Regions from separate parts of the Homo sapiens genome. Here all the other regions are linked to region 1. The links are contacts of gene promoters, found by promoter capture Hi-C in blood cells and fetal thymus (Javierre and others, 2016). All regions are on one chromosome and are shown on one strand. The core of a region is centred on a gene start or on the middle of the fragment in contact, and the rest is flanking DNA. Distances in the headings are between cores, read along the strand shown. Region 1 holds the start of OR2T4 (olfactory receptor family 2 subfamily T member 4). Region 2 has its middle 3.8 kb from the start of OR6F1. Region 3 holds the start of OR14K1 (olfactory receptor family 14 subfamily K member 1).

Region 1 (4,582 bases), core at 666-3,165:
ATATTAATAAGTCTAATTAGAATTATTAAAAGAATTCAAAATGTATTTGAAACTTGGAAATTCTTCCTGAAATATGACTGTATGATAACCACTGCTAAAGTCTTCCCTGAAAAAGGACCCTATATTTTCTTCCTATTGATAAATACTAAAATTTAACAACATGTCAGAAATCGAAAAGTTGCAAAGTTTTAATCTTCTTAAGAGAAAATGTAGGAGTTATCAGTGATTCTCTTCAGAAAGGTTAAATGTATTTTGCTTCTATTAGCCTTGTTAATGTAGCTCATAGCTATTCTAATCTGAAGTTGTACTTTAAATCATGTTTATATGTTTTTTCCTGAATAGACTGACTGTGACCTCCTCAAGCTTAATCAAATATAATTTGTCTTTGATTCCTGCACTAGCTAACACAGAGTCAGGCTGTGAGTAGCAAGATAGAGGAAGGAATTTAATTGAAGTGAGAGACATCTTAGTGTTTTATTTTCTTTTCTGCCTCACAGTTTCCGTGAAAAAATTCACTGTAGCAGGCAATAAAGCAGATATTTGCAAAAACACCAAAAGCCTTACCTGGTAAATAGCAGGGAGTTTCTAAATCCCAGTTATGCCCCCCTGAGATTTAATGCGAATGACAGGAGCTTTAAGGAGTTAAGCTTGGAGAAGCATGCACTAGTCACAAAGAAGGTGGATTCTGCATAAATCTCTGCTCAACATGAAAATAAGAGACATACCTTACATTAATATATGCATTTCTATTTGTAAATATGCATATACAATGTATTCTTATATTTGTAAATCTGCACATATATAAAAATGCATATCTATAAATTTATATAAAATAAATGTAAACTGTATACATACAAGTTGTCTGGGACTAGAGAAATTATCAAATCCAAATTCTTACAAGTCTGACTAAATGATAAAATCAGCAAACTGAAGTAATGAAGCTCATATCATAAGATGATTATAGTAATACAGTCTGCAGAATAATTTGTGTAGATATTAACTCTTTGACAGTGTATGTATTTGTTCATTTGTAACTGGTAATATTCTAAGCACTTTCATTACTTTTCTGCATTTAATCTTCATCAACCCTGAGGTCAAACCTTTTCTTACCATCTATTTTTATGTGCAGTAAACAGAGGAATAGCAGGTAGAGGGGAAGCTGGGTCCACCCTGCAGTCCAGCCACGGTCCCTGGGCTCCTCACCCCATGCGACTCTGGTTTCTGAGGAGTCTGGTGTGTAGGAGGACCCTGGCTTGCTCATGGGGATGTGTGGGGTTTTGCTCCACGAAACCACAGAGCCTCACAGCATTGTCCAATACTGTGGGTAGAAGGGTGCAAATGTTTGGTATGGATTTTCCACAAGTGATATTTTAGTCATGTTCTAAATCATTCCTATATGGAATACACTTTTGGGAGTTTTTAAGATTCCAGATGGATCCTTAAACCAGAGAATGTAATTCACTTTAGACTTCTCTAAACAACTCTAAAAACAGGGGGACAAAATTCTCCTTTGTTTTCAATAATTCACTATTCATGTCTGCATAAGGCAGTGACACTGCCAGTTTCCAGGACTTGTTTATAACAGACACTCTCATCGGGAAATCTCATGACTCAGAACTGTGGCAACTTCACTACAAATCACCCTTTTGATCCACAGTTGTGAATTCTTAGTTCCTGGTAAATTTTTTGAATTGCAGATAATTTATAACACCCAAATCTACAGGCCCATGGGCCTTTCTTTGGTTAGAACACACACACACACACACAATTTGTTTCAGAGGCTCAAATTACTTTAACCCCAAGCTTTCCTTTGTGGCCTAGGTGAAACCTCATGGACAACATCACCTGGATGGCCAGCCACACTGGATGGTCGGATTTCATCCTGATGGGACTCTTCAGACAATCCAAACATCCAATGGCCAATATCACCTGGATGGCCAACCACACTGGATGGTCGGATTTCATCCTGTTGGGACTCTTCAGACAATCCAAACATCCAGCACTACTTTGTGTGGTCATTTTTGTGGTTTTCCTGATGGCGTTGTCTGGAAATGCTGTCCTGATCCTTCTGATACACTGTGACGCCCACCTCCACACCCCCATGTACTTTTTCATCAGTCAATTGTCTCTCATGGACATGGCGTACATTTCTGTCACTGTGCCCAAGATGCTCCTGGACCAGGTCATGGGTGTGAATAAGATCTCAGCCCCTGAGTGTGGGATGCAGATGTTCTTCTACGTGACACTAGCAGGTTCAGAATTTTTCCTTCTAGCCACCATGGCCTATGACCGCTACGTGGCCATCTGCCATCCTCTCCGTTACCCTGTCCTCATGAACCATAGGGTGTGTCTCTTCCTGTCATCAGGCTGCTGGTTCCTGGGCTCAGTGGATGGCTTCACATTCACTCCCATCACCATGACCTTCCCCTTCCGTGGATCCCGGGAGATTCATCATTTCTTCTGTGAAGTTCCTGCTGTATTGAATCTCTCCTGCTCAGACACCTCACTCTATGAGATTTTCATGTACTTGTGCTGTGTCCTCATGCTCCTCATCCCTGTGGTGATCATTTCAAGCTCCTATTTACTCATCCTCCTCACCATCCACGGGATGAACTCAGCAGAGGGCCGGAAAAAGGCCTTTGCCACCTGCTCCTCCCACCTGACTGTGGTCATCCTCTTCTATGGGGCTGCCATCTACACCTACATGCTCCCCAGCTCCTACCACACCCCTGAGAAGGACATGATGGTATCTGTCTTCTATACCATCCTCACTCCAGTGGTGAACCCTTTAATCTATAGTCTTAGGAATAAGGATGTCATGGGGGCTCTGAAGAAAATGTTAACAGTGGAACCTGCCTTTCAAAAAGCTATGGAGTAGACCATTTTGAGAGTAATTTACTTTTCCTTCTCTCTGCACTTCACATATGAGAATGTTATACCAGTGTTATTTCCCAGACTCCAAGACTGCCATGGTGTTTGATCTCATTTTCACACCTCTTTTAGAAATCGCTTTCCTGTACTAGAAACTTTTCAATTTACACTCCGTCTCACTTCAAAATGCATTATTCAGTCATATTATATTGATGTTACAGTTACTGAAGTTCATAACTACTTTCTAATTCTATAGGATATTTTCATATTCTGGGAATACATAATGATACTACTTAGAGGATAAAGGTTATAAGGCATAAAATTGAGAGAGAGGGAGAAATGAGGAAGAAAAAGGGTTCATATAGATGTTCTTTGTACTACTTTTATTTATGCTAATTTTCTGTAAAATTGAAATTAATTTTAAATAAATAATTAAAATATGTCCCCTCCCTCCCACCTTTTTTGAGCAGTACACATGATATAATATCTTAGAAAACTTGCTGATTGCAATGTAGTTATTCACTGCTGAGACAATCCAGCCATTTGTCCACCCTTATTGGAGGCTGTCTTGGCCCACATGGTTGGTTCCTGAAAGATTAAGGTCTGTTATTGAGGTTAACAGTCTTCATCAAGTGCTGGGTTTTGAATCCCGAATTCCGTTAAGAGACTGTGGAAAACATATTAGCCTGGGGTGAAAAGAAGCTTTAGAGAAGATTTCCAGCACAAAGTGACATCTGAGCTGAGTTTTGAAGTATGTAATTTATTAGACAAATAAGAAGAGGTAGAGTATCAAATATCCAATTGTTCATTTATCCAGTAAATATTTGTTATGCTATATTAAATCTAAAATATTCACTAAAGAAAATTCAAAGGTGAATACTACATACTGCTTTCCCCAAGAAATTTGAACTAGTAATTCTGTGTGCAAATAGGTGCTATAAAGTGTATGAAATGCTTTGATGCACATGTGGAAAGGGTATAGCTCATTCTGGCACCTCGCTTCTTCCTGTGCTGTGCACATTCAATCAAGCAGAAGATGCTGAGTGCAGCCCCAGGAGCTCAGTGTTAAAGGTGCCTAGCTGTTCCCCTCAGATAACTACACATGGCTGGGGAAGGGGGAGGGACTTTGTCAGGGATGTGATTATGCCTGGGAAAAGGCACAGCAAGAGCAAAGGTCAGACAATTGACCAAGCAGGAGTGGCAAATATTCTAATCGTGCCTTCTTTCCTGTTTTATTTTGTGGAATAATTCCTTGCTTTCTGTGACCCAGATGTTTACAAACAGTAGAAAATGATCAGTCTTGCATTTCAGAAATATTACTTTGGTGACAATAGATTGGAGAAGTGCAAACCTGGTGGCAGGCAGACCAGGTGAGTGAGGATGGTGAAATGCACGAACTCAGTGGAACGATGTGTACCTTACCACCAGGAGGGACTTAGGGAGAGGAAATGTTTGGGGTATGCAGGGATGTGAGACTTTGTCAAACCAATTGGATTATAATTACAGACCTAGTTGCAGGTGTATCATTTTCCAATTGCCTGTGTCCAACTTGTGAAAAATCAAGTGGCTTCAGATTTACAGATTCTGCTTTCCTCTTGACAATATGATCCTAAACATGTAAAACTTAAAATCTCCACAAAAGCTCTGTTAGAACAATTGAAAGCCTTCACATAAAGTTGCAGAAATCAAAATCAACATACATCAATAATTT
Region 2 (4,582 bases), core at 1,812-4,311, 640 kb before region 1:
TGAAAGTTGCCCTAGAGCAGCCTTCTTCCTGATACAGATACATTTTCTATTGTAGATTTTCTCTAGAGATGTAGTTTTTTAAAAAATAAAAAAGTAGCCATGTCTGCAGTTTCTCAAAGTAACCTGCTGGAAATTTGCCCAAGAAGTATACTTTGAGGTGACGTATTCTGATCTCTTACAGTCATATTTTGGAGTTGTATCCTAAGCCCCAACACGTTGATAAGCATTTTTTTTTAAGTTATTGAGAAATAAATCACTATGCAAAACAACTTAAGAAATAGAAAAGAAACAATAGAATTTCTCTCCTTTGCTGTTTATATTTAATATTTTTAGTTTGTTTGTTCGTGTGAAACAATCTGAAAATATATTCTACAGTAACACCAGTAATGCTTATGTTTGGGCTCAGAAAATGATACCTCAAAGTATGACACTTTGGCATGCTGAGTACTTTGGAAAAACTGGATAGCTATATACAGAAGAATGAAATTGGACCCTGTCTCACACAATATGCAACAATCAATGCAAAATGAATTAAAATTCCATGACTTTGGTCTGAGCAATGATTTCTTGGATAAGACCCCCAAAACACTGGCAACAAAAGCATTAGACAAATGGGATTGCATCAAACTAAAAGGCTTCTGCATAGCAAAGGAAATAGTTAACAAGAGACAAACTGAATTAGGAGAAAACTTTTGCAAACCATATGTCTGATACAGAGTTAATATCTGAAATAAATAAGACACTAAACTCAATAGCAAGAAAACAAATAATCTAATTTAAAAATGGGCAAAGGACCTGAACAGTTATTTCTTAAAAGAAGGTATATAGTCAACAAATATATGAAAAAGTGCACAGCATCCCTAAAGATCAGGGAAATGCAAATTAAAACCACAGTGAGACATCACCTCACACCTGTTAGAGTGGCTATCATAAAAAAGATAAAAGTTAAGTGTCAGTGAGGATGTGAACTTCAGTATATTTAGGTTTGTAATTCATCTGAATTTTATTTTTTGTATGTGTAGTGTAAGGTGGATTTTAAAAATATTTAATTCTATTTTTTTCTACATTATTTTCCTTTCTAGTCATTCCTTTTCCAGTAATGTATGATTTATCCTCTGTCATATTCTGGTCACCATTCATGAATGGATTGAGTTTTCTTCCTTTGGTCCATTTTCTATCTCTAAACAACCATAATCTTTCAATTACTGTAATATTATAGACATGTTTATATCTGAAAAGCCATTACTCTACTTCTTACTTTTTCATCTTAAAAATTGTTTTAATTTTCATGGCTGTTAAGTTGTGTATATGAATGTTTTAAAAACTTAAGTTCCATTTTGAACTACTTTAAGACTTCAAATGAAAAGTTTATTGGTTACTTATGGAGAATCAACACCTTTATTGAATCTTCTCATCCCTGTACACAGTATATAATCCAACTACTTTCATTTTGTTCATACTCTTAGGTAACTTAAAAAATTATATTCTCCAAAAGTTATTTTTCCCCATTGATGAGTTATTCTCAGATACCATATACTTTTCAATGTTCTTGTGAATATGTAATCCATCTTTAGTTTCTTTTACTGTAGGACTCTCCTTGGTCATTTTGCCCCCAAATTTGACTTTTTGAGCAGTCTCATCAGTCTCTTACAGGATGTCTCATATTATTTGTTTGTTCAGTTGTTTCTCATGTGGTATTATTAAATTTGTATCTTCTGTTTTTCTGAAAACTGGAAGTTAGTTCTGAGGCTTGATTAAACTCCAGGTTAAATATTTTAAGAGAATATTTCAAGGATGATGTAGTCTACATATTGTAACATATCAGGAGGCACATAAGTTATTTTACTATTATTGTTACCAGTTTGATCAATTAGATTATGGAGGCTACCATCATTCTCTTTATTGTAAATATGGAATAGATAGTTTGAGGTTAAAAGCTTGTCATTATGAAGATATCTCATTTTCTTGCAACTCTTTTTCTAGTGGTTTCATCATCCATGGCTGATTCTTGCCTGAATCAATTCCAATATAGATGATTAATATTATGAATTTTTAAATTCTATTATTTCTTAAATATTTACTAGCTGTCAATCTTCTAAAAAATGGTTTTTTATCAATTTTTCCCTGGTAATTAAAACATATTATAGAAAAATAAGGCACTGATATAATTTGGACAGCTGTCATTAAGATGGCTAACTAGAAATGCCCAGCACTCACCTACTCCACAAAGAAGGACTGAGATAGCAAGTAAATAGCCAAATGTTGACGGCACTGTCTAGGAGAGAATGCTGGTATCCAGCAGGGAAGCAAAAGGAACCTTCTGAGGTATGGAAATTCAAAATGGCAGCATAGAGAAGGAAGTAAGGCAGCCAGTTGGATGGGCTAGGAGCCAGGAAGTACTTCCCTTCTCATATGGAAAAAAGGTAAATGAGAGATCCATGTAAGTACACATGTAGGCACCTGCACACACTGTCCAGAGGCTGAAGAGTGGTGTGTCCAGCCTACTGGAACCCACACACCCCACCCAGGAGCCTGAGGGCCAGCCTGTCCAGCCTGCTGTTTCTACAGCCAGCATCCTTGTTACACACTCAAAGGTCTAAAGACTGGCCTACTGAGGGTTTGCTGCCACTACAGCTAGCACTTGCACACACCACCAAAAGGCCTAAGCACCAGTCAACCTTGTGTCCTCATCTTCAGCAAAGGCTAGCCAAAGCATCTGCAAACAACTGCAACCTAAGCCACTAAGGAACGCACAGAAACTACTGACATTGATAACAGTAAAAGAAATCATACAGTGGCTACAGTATGGTGCATATCCAGAACCAAAGCCAAAGCAATCTGCCCAACCAAAATTGAAGCCACATATATAGTAAGAAAAAGTATTTCTTTACAGAAGCTACTCCATAAACCTGGAAGAAGTGACTGTTAAATGCGATGCACAGATATCAACATAGGGATGAAAGAAATACAAAACAGCAAGGAAATATGACACCTACAAAGGAAGACAATAATTCCCCAGTAAAAGACCCCAAAGAAAAGGCATATAAAATGCCTGAAGAAAAATTATTCTCTGAAAGAACCCGAGTGAGATACAAAAGAACACAGATAAATAATACAAAGAAATAAGAAAAAAAATCATGATCCGAATCAGAAATTCGACAAGAAATAGATACCGTAAAAAAGAACAAATAGAAATCCTGGAACTAAAGAATTTAATGAATGGAATAAAAATGTAATTGAGAGCTTCAACAAAATACTAGATGAAGTAGAAGAAAAAAATTTTGAACTTGAAGACAACTCTGTTGAAATAATTCAGGCAGACAAAGAAAAACACAAATACTCCAATTTGATTATTATACATTATATGCCTGAATCAATATATCATATGTACCCTATAAATATATACAATTATTGTGTATCAATAAAACTAATAAAGTATAAGAAAAAGAGGACTATAATTATAAAATATCAGATGCTACTAAAAAAACAAAAGGGAGGACACTGAAAAATCTCAACAGATTTTCCACAATGCACGTAATTTCTTAAATATTTAAACCAAAAATATTTCACCAATATAATTTAACTGAGGGTAGGGTAACAGTCTTTTCTCTTTTACAACTCTGCCTACTCAACTCTGACAATAGGTAGATGTACATGTCAACATAATTGATTCATGTTTAGCATACATTTTTTTCTTTAAAGGGAAAGAACAAATAATTGTGTGATTTTCCCTCTGGTAGAACTTAAAGGAAATTTTATGTGTAAGATATATCATGAAAGTTTAATTTAACCTTATTTATATTTTTAGCATCTTATTTTGGTATGGTAAAAATCAACATAGCTGTCAGAGGATATTTGGGACATGATTAAATAAGATAACATGTGACTCAGAATTATTACCTGGCCATCTAGTTAATTCAATGGTTAATAAAACATTAGTAACATGATTGAAAAAAGAGCATAATAATTGAGAACAATCTTAGGAATATTTGTATTTTTTCTTAGATAAATAAGAACATAACAAAGTCAATATAAAACCCAGAAAGTTATTGTAATAAGACACAGAATCTCTAGGGGGGTTATATAGAAGGTAAAGAAAAAGGTTTCACATTGTAGACACTCGTGGTTAAACCAAAGGAAGTCTATCACAACTGAATGACTTGGGAAATCATTTTAACACATTTCCAAGCTTCTCTTCAGAATCAGATTTAAAACATTATTCTTTATACAGGGAGAGGTGAAGGCCTTTCTGAACTATAGACATGCAGACACATAGAAACACACAGTTCTCAGACCTTCAGAACTCTGCCTGGTCTGTTTCTGGAAATACTATTTACTGGGTGACCACCACTTGCCTAGGAGACCTTGGCTCAGACATGTCTTCTCACCTCTGCTTTAGGTGTCCTGCAGATTGTTTACAGATCTGGGCACACCTCTAAAATGGCCTTAGCTCACTGTGTTATTTTTGCCTAGTATTGTTCTTGCTCAGCTCTAGCTAGATTCTCAGGGGAGTCATGTGAATTTTATCTGGGTAGTATAATGCAAATGCATTATACTGCACTCATTGAATCACCTCAGCATT
Region 3 (4,582 bases), core at 1,430-3,929, 620 kb before region 1:
CTTCTCTTCTGAAATTATTTTGAAATAAATATAGAACTGTTTGGGAAAGCATTCTCACCGGCCTTTGTTATGAATGTTGCTTCTATTGATCTTACTCGAGAATGGAAACATTTTCCGGGGCTGAAGATTCCATATAGCCTTTGTTATGAATGTTGCTTCTGTTGATCTTACTCGAGAATGGAAACATTTTCCGGAGCTGAAGACTCCATATAGGCCTCCCCTCCCCTCCCCTCCCCTCTCCTCTCCTCTCCTCTTCCCCTTTGCTCTCTCATTCTCTCCATTCCTCATATTCTTGACAAAAGTGATAAAATTTGTTGTTAATATGATATAGAAATGGTAAAGAAACATATAAACCTGAACTTACCCTATCTTCCCAGCCTTCTTAGATACCCCTTGATTTTAGGATTATTTTGTGTATTATATGTATTTTCCCAGTTTTAGATTGATTGAGACTCAGATTGCATATTTTTATTTAATCATGTGGAATTTCCCTGGACCAAATAAGTATATAAATATAATGAGGCAAAGCTTTATTGTTATTAATGTTATCTGTAAAGAAAAGCACACAGACTTTTAAACTAATGCTATCACTCATTTCATATGTAAGCATGTGAAATAAGGTGAAATATAAATCAAAAATGAGACTGAAGGGATAAAAATCTAGCATTGGAGTCAAACATCACTGGGGTGGAAGGAACTCAAAAGGACACTCACTCACTCACTGAGCTACCCTGGCTGTCTCTAAAACACACAGGCTAATGCAACAGAAACAAGGATGGATGGTTTGCTAGTTTGGAGGTAGCTCTTGGGGTATTTTGACACTGCTCCAGGTTTTATTCCCCAGCAGGTCAAACAAAGGAGGCTTTACTTTTGGGGCTTCCATGAATTAGCTCATGTTATGAGTCAGGCTCTCCATTATTGCTCTAAAGCTAGGGCCAGTGCTTTCTCCAACAAGAAAGCCCAAAGTTTGCAACATAGTAAGAAATTTCCATTTGCTCATGAGTCTTTTCAACTTAAAACATTATTTTATTTAATTTTTGTAGACATAGAGGGGTCTCATCTTGTTGTCCAGGCTTGTCTCGAATTCCTGGCCTTAAGAGATCCTCTGGCCTCAGCCTCCTAAAATGCTGTGATTACCGGCATGAGCCACCATGCCTGGTCCCTTTTCAACTTTAAATCACTTGTTAATTTAGTTCTCAGAAAATCACTTGTACTGAAATGGACATATTCTATGAAGGTTAGAGGTACGACTGCTCATCCTGGAAAAGCTCTGTTTATTCTTGCTCATCCTCTCGGCTGTGTGTGTGTGCATATGTGTGTATAGAGAAGGAGGAGAATGTATGTTGTAATGGTCTGCTACATTCTCTTTCAGTTGAAAAACTGCTGAACAACAAAGTGAGACTCTCTTGTGTCTACAAAAATAAAATATTTTTTAAGTTGAAAAGACTCAAGAGCAAATGGAAATCTCATGCTATGTTGCAAACTTTGGGTGTTCTTGTTGGAAAAAGCACTGGCAGTAGCTTTAGAGCAATAATGGAGAGCCTGACTTATAGCTCAACATGAGCAAGTTCATGGCTGCCCCAAACTTAAAGCCTCCTCTGTTTGACCTGCTGGGGAGAATAAAACCTAGAGCAGTGTCTACATACCCTAAGAGCTACTTCCAAACTAGCAAACCGTCCATCCTGTTTTCTGTTCTGTGTGTTTTAGAGATGGCCTGGAAACCAAAGGGGAAAGTGAAAAAATTGCCATTGAAGTGATACTAAAGTAAAATCAAGAGAGGTTCTAAAGACAAGATGATCTGAGGGAAAAACATGGCCAAAACTCTCCCTCACGTTGGGGTGTGCGAGGGATCTCAGATGACAATCTCTGAATGTCTATCACATAAGAGGACACACTGCATCTCTGGTTAGATGCAGTAGATATCCCTGTCTGTCGCTTCCTGTGTTTAATTAAATCCTTCCTAGAATATTATGTTAATCATCTGGCTAAGTCTCAGGTTTTTGTTCTTTTCATGAAAAATGACACTATATATTTGAAAACTGATTTGTGAAAATAACGAGTACTTTTTAATTTTTGTGCTATGCTATGTATATGGACTAAAGAAAGAAAAAAATGATACTATAATCACATTTTCACCAAAGGAGTAAACTTTAATGCAAAAATGGGAGAATAATCTTAACATCCTTCAGTGAGAAGGGGATAGTAAATTAGAGTATCACCTGAGGATAATGACTATTTTAAATATTGCAGTAAGTAGCAAGCAGAAATTTCATTCACAACATTTAATACACACAAAACTACATTAACCGGGATATTTATACATGAAAATGTATGCCCTATTGCAGTTTTATATATAATTGCATAGCCAACCCTGTAATTCCCAAAGGAAATAAAATCACTCAAAAGTCATTTCAAGTAATGAGGGAGAGAAGTGAAGTTCTTTGCTTCTTTCACAATAAATCTTAGTCCAGGACTACTAAGTGTTAGACTGATATACCCACAGTTGTTTTACACCTGAGTCCATGAGAAATATAAATTGCTTGATATTTTTAAACTTTTTGTCTAGGCCTTGATGCTACACATACCTTCATTCAACAAATGAAGAAACAAATGATACTTTTTAATATTAGTATGACACTTATTTTCCTTTACTCCATAGGGCGCTTATAATTTTGAACTATGACCAATCAGACACAGATGATGGAATTCTTGCTTGTGAGATTTACTGAGAATTGGGTGCTCCTGAGGCTGCATGCTTTGCTCTTCTCACTGATCTACCTCACGGCTGTGCTGATGAATTTAGTCATCATTCTCCTCATGATTCTGGACCATCGTCTCCACATGGCAATGTACTTTTTCCTCCGACATTTGTCCTTCTTAGACCTGTGTCTCATTTCTGCCACAGTCCCCAAATCCATCCTCAACTCTGTCGCCTCCACTGACTCCATCTCCTTCCTGGGGTGTGTGTTGCAGCTCTTCTTGGTGGTACTGCTGGCTGGATCAGAGATTGGCATCCTTACTGCCATGTCCTATGACCGCTATGCTGCCATCTGCTGCCCCCTACACTGTGAGGCTGTCATGAGCAGAGGGCTCTGTGTCCAGTTGATGGCTCTGTCCTGGCTCAACAGAGGGGCCTTGGGACTCTTGTACACAGCTGGAACATTCTCTCTGAATTTTTATGGCTCTGATGAGCTACATCAGTTCTTCTGCGATGTCCCTGCCCTACTAAAGCTCACTTGTTCTAAAGAACATGCCATCATTAGTGTCAGTGTGGCCATTGGGGTCTGTTATGCATTTTCATGTTTAGTTTGCATTGTAGTTTCCTATGTGTACATTTTCTCTGCTGTGTTAAGGATATCACAGAGACAGAGACAATCCAAAGCCTTTTCCAACTGTGTGCCTCACCTCATTGTTGTCACTGTGTTTCTTGTAACAGGTGCTGTTGCTTATTTAAAGCCAGGGTCTGATGCACCTTCTATTCTAGACTTGCTGGTGTCTGTGTTCTATTCTGTCGCACCTCCAACCTTGAACCCTGTTATCTACTGTCTGAAGAACAAGGACATTAAATCCGCTCTGAGTAAAGTCCTGTGGAATGTTAGAAGCAGTGGGGTAATGAAAAGATGACTAAAGTTGAAGATGGGAAGTAACTTTTTTTGTTGTTGTTGTTCTGCCATCCACTAGCTGTTTAAAATTATCTCTATTTTGGGATAAAAATGTCATGGAGTCTTGCTACTGATAATCTCAAGCAGTCAGTTTTAATAGAAATAGAAAGCAACTATTTTCCTACAATTTTTGCACTTTTTTTTTTTAAAATTTTGAGACGGAATCTCTCTCTGTCATCCAGGCTGGAGTGCAGGGGCGTGATCTTGGCTCAAGCAATTATCATGTCTCGGCTTCCCAAGTAGCTGGGATTACAGGTGTATGCAACCACGCCCAGCTATTTGTTTGTGTTTTTAGTAGAGACGGAGTTCCACCATGTTGGCCAGGCTGGTCTTGAATTCCTGACCTCAAGCAATCCGTTGGTCTCAGCCTCCAAAAGTGTTGGGATTACAGCGTAAGCCACCGTGCCCATCTCTTTTCCTATACTTCTTCACTTGACATCTGTTATTCATGTAGAAATAATTAAAGTTTTCCTATGACAACTTCAATGATTTTTACTCTTGTTCTGAAGATCCACATGCATTGCATGAGATTTGTATGAGGTTCTCATACCTCAAAAAGCTTTCATCTTTTCGGCATTCTCTTCAGTTAGTTTCTGCTTTATTGTCCTATCTTTTCCAGCATTCTCTTCAGTTAGTTTCTGCTTTATTGTCCTAGATTTTGCATTGCATCTCAGGTTTTATCGATTCAACGTTCTTTATAGCTTCTGATTTTCACTATTTGGTAAAAGTTGTAATTTTAACTTAAAGTTATGATTTCAACTTACTTTTACAGTTTAAAAAATGTACTCAATTTTATTGCATTTTACCTATTTGATTCATGTGTGCTTGGTAGATTTTATACAATTACCCAAACACTTAGGAAGGTGATTTTCTCATGTCTTTTTAAAAATAAATTATGTTTTTGGAGTAGAATATTTTTC

What was found. The method cuts DNA at HindIII sites, captures the fragments that hold promoters and counts their contacts. A CHiCAGO score of 5 or more calls a contact.
Region 2: a fragment that was not itself captured here is called in contact with the fragment with the promoter of OR2T4 in region 1 in 1 of 17 cell types (M2 macrophages); the score reaches 5.8 in M2 macrophages.
Region 3: a contact is called between the fragment with the promoter of OR14K1 here and the fragment with the promoter of OR2T4 in region 1, in 2 of 17 cell types (endothelial precursors and M1 macrophages). The highest score is 8.6, in endothelial precursors.

What each region holds. Positions count from the first base shown.
Region 1 is chr1:248,359,750-248,364,331 of GRCh38, forward strand. OR2T4 (olfactory receptor family 2 subfamily T member 4) reads left to right here and starts at 1,916. Exons shown (of 1, transcript NM_001004696.2): 1 at 1,916-2,878. The coding sequence starts at 1,916. The coding sequence ends at 2,878. The HindIII fragment of the contact is 1,770 bases long and covers 1,802-3,571 here.
Region 2 is chr1:247,718,171-247,722,752 of GRCh38, forward strand. No RefSeq gene overlaps it. Among named protein-coding and RNA genes, the nearest start is that of OR6F1, 3.8 kb to the left of the region's middle. The HindIII fragment of the contact is 2,252 bases long and covers 1,936-4,187 here.
Region 3 is chr1:247,735,936-247,740,517 of GRCh38, forward strand. It overlaps OR14K1 (olfactory receptor family 14 subfamily K member 1), which reads left to right and starts at 2,680. Exons shown (of 1, transcript NM_001004732.2): 1 at 2,680-3,624. The coding sequence starts at 2,680. The coding sequence ends at 3,624. All of the region lies in intron 1 of OR14A2 (olfactory receptor family 14 subfamily A member 2), which reads right to left. The HindIII fragment of the contact is 3,693 bases long and covers 527-4,219 here.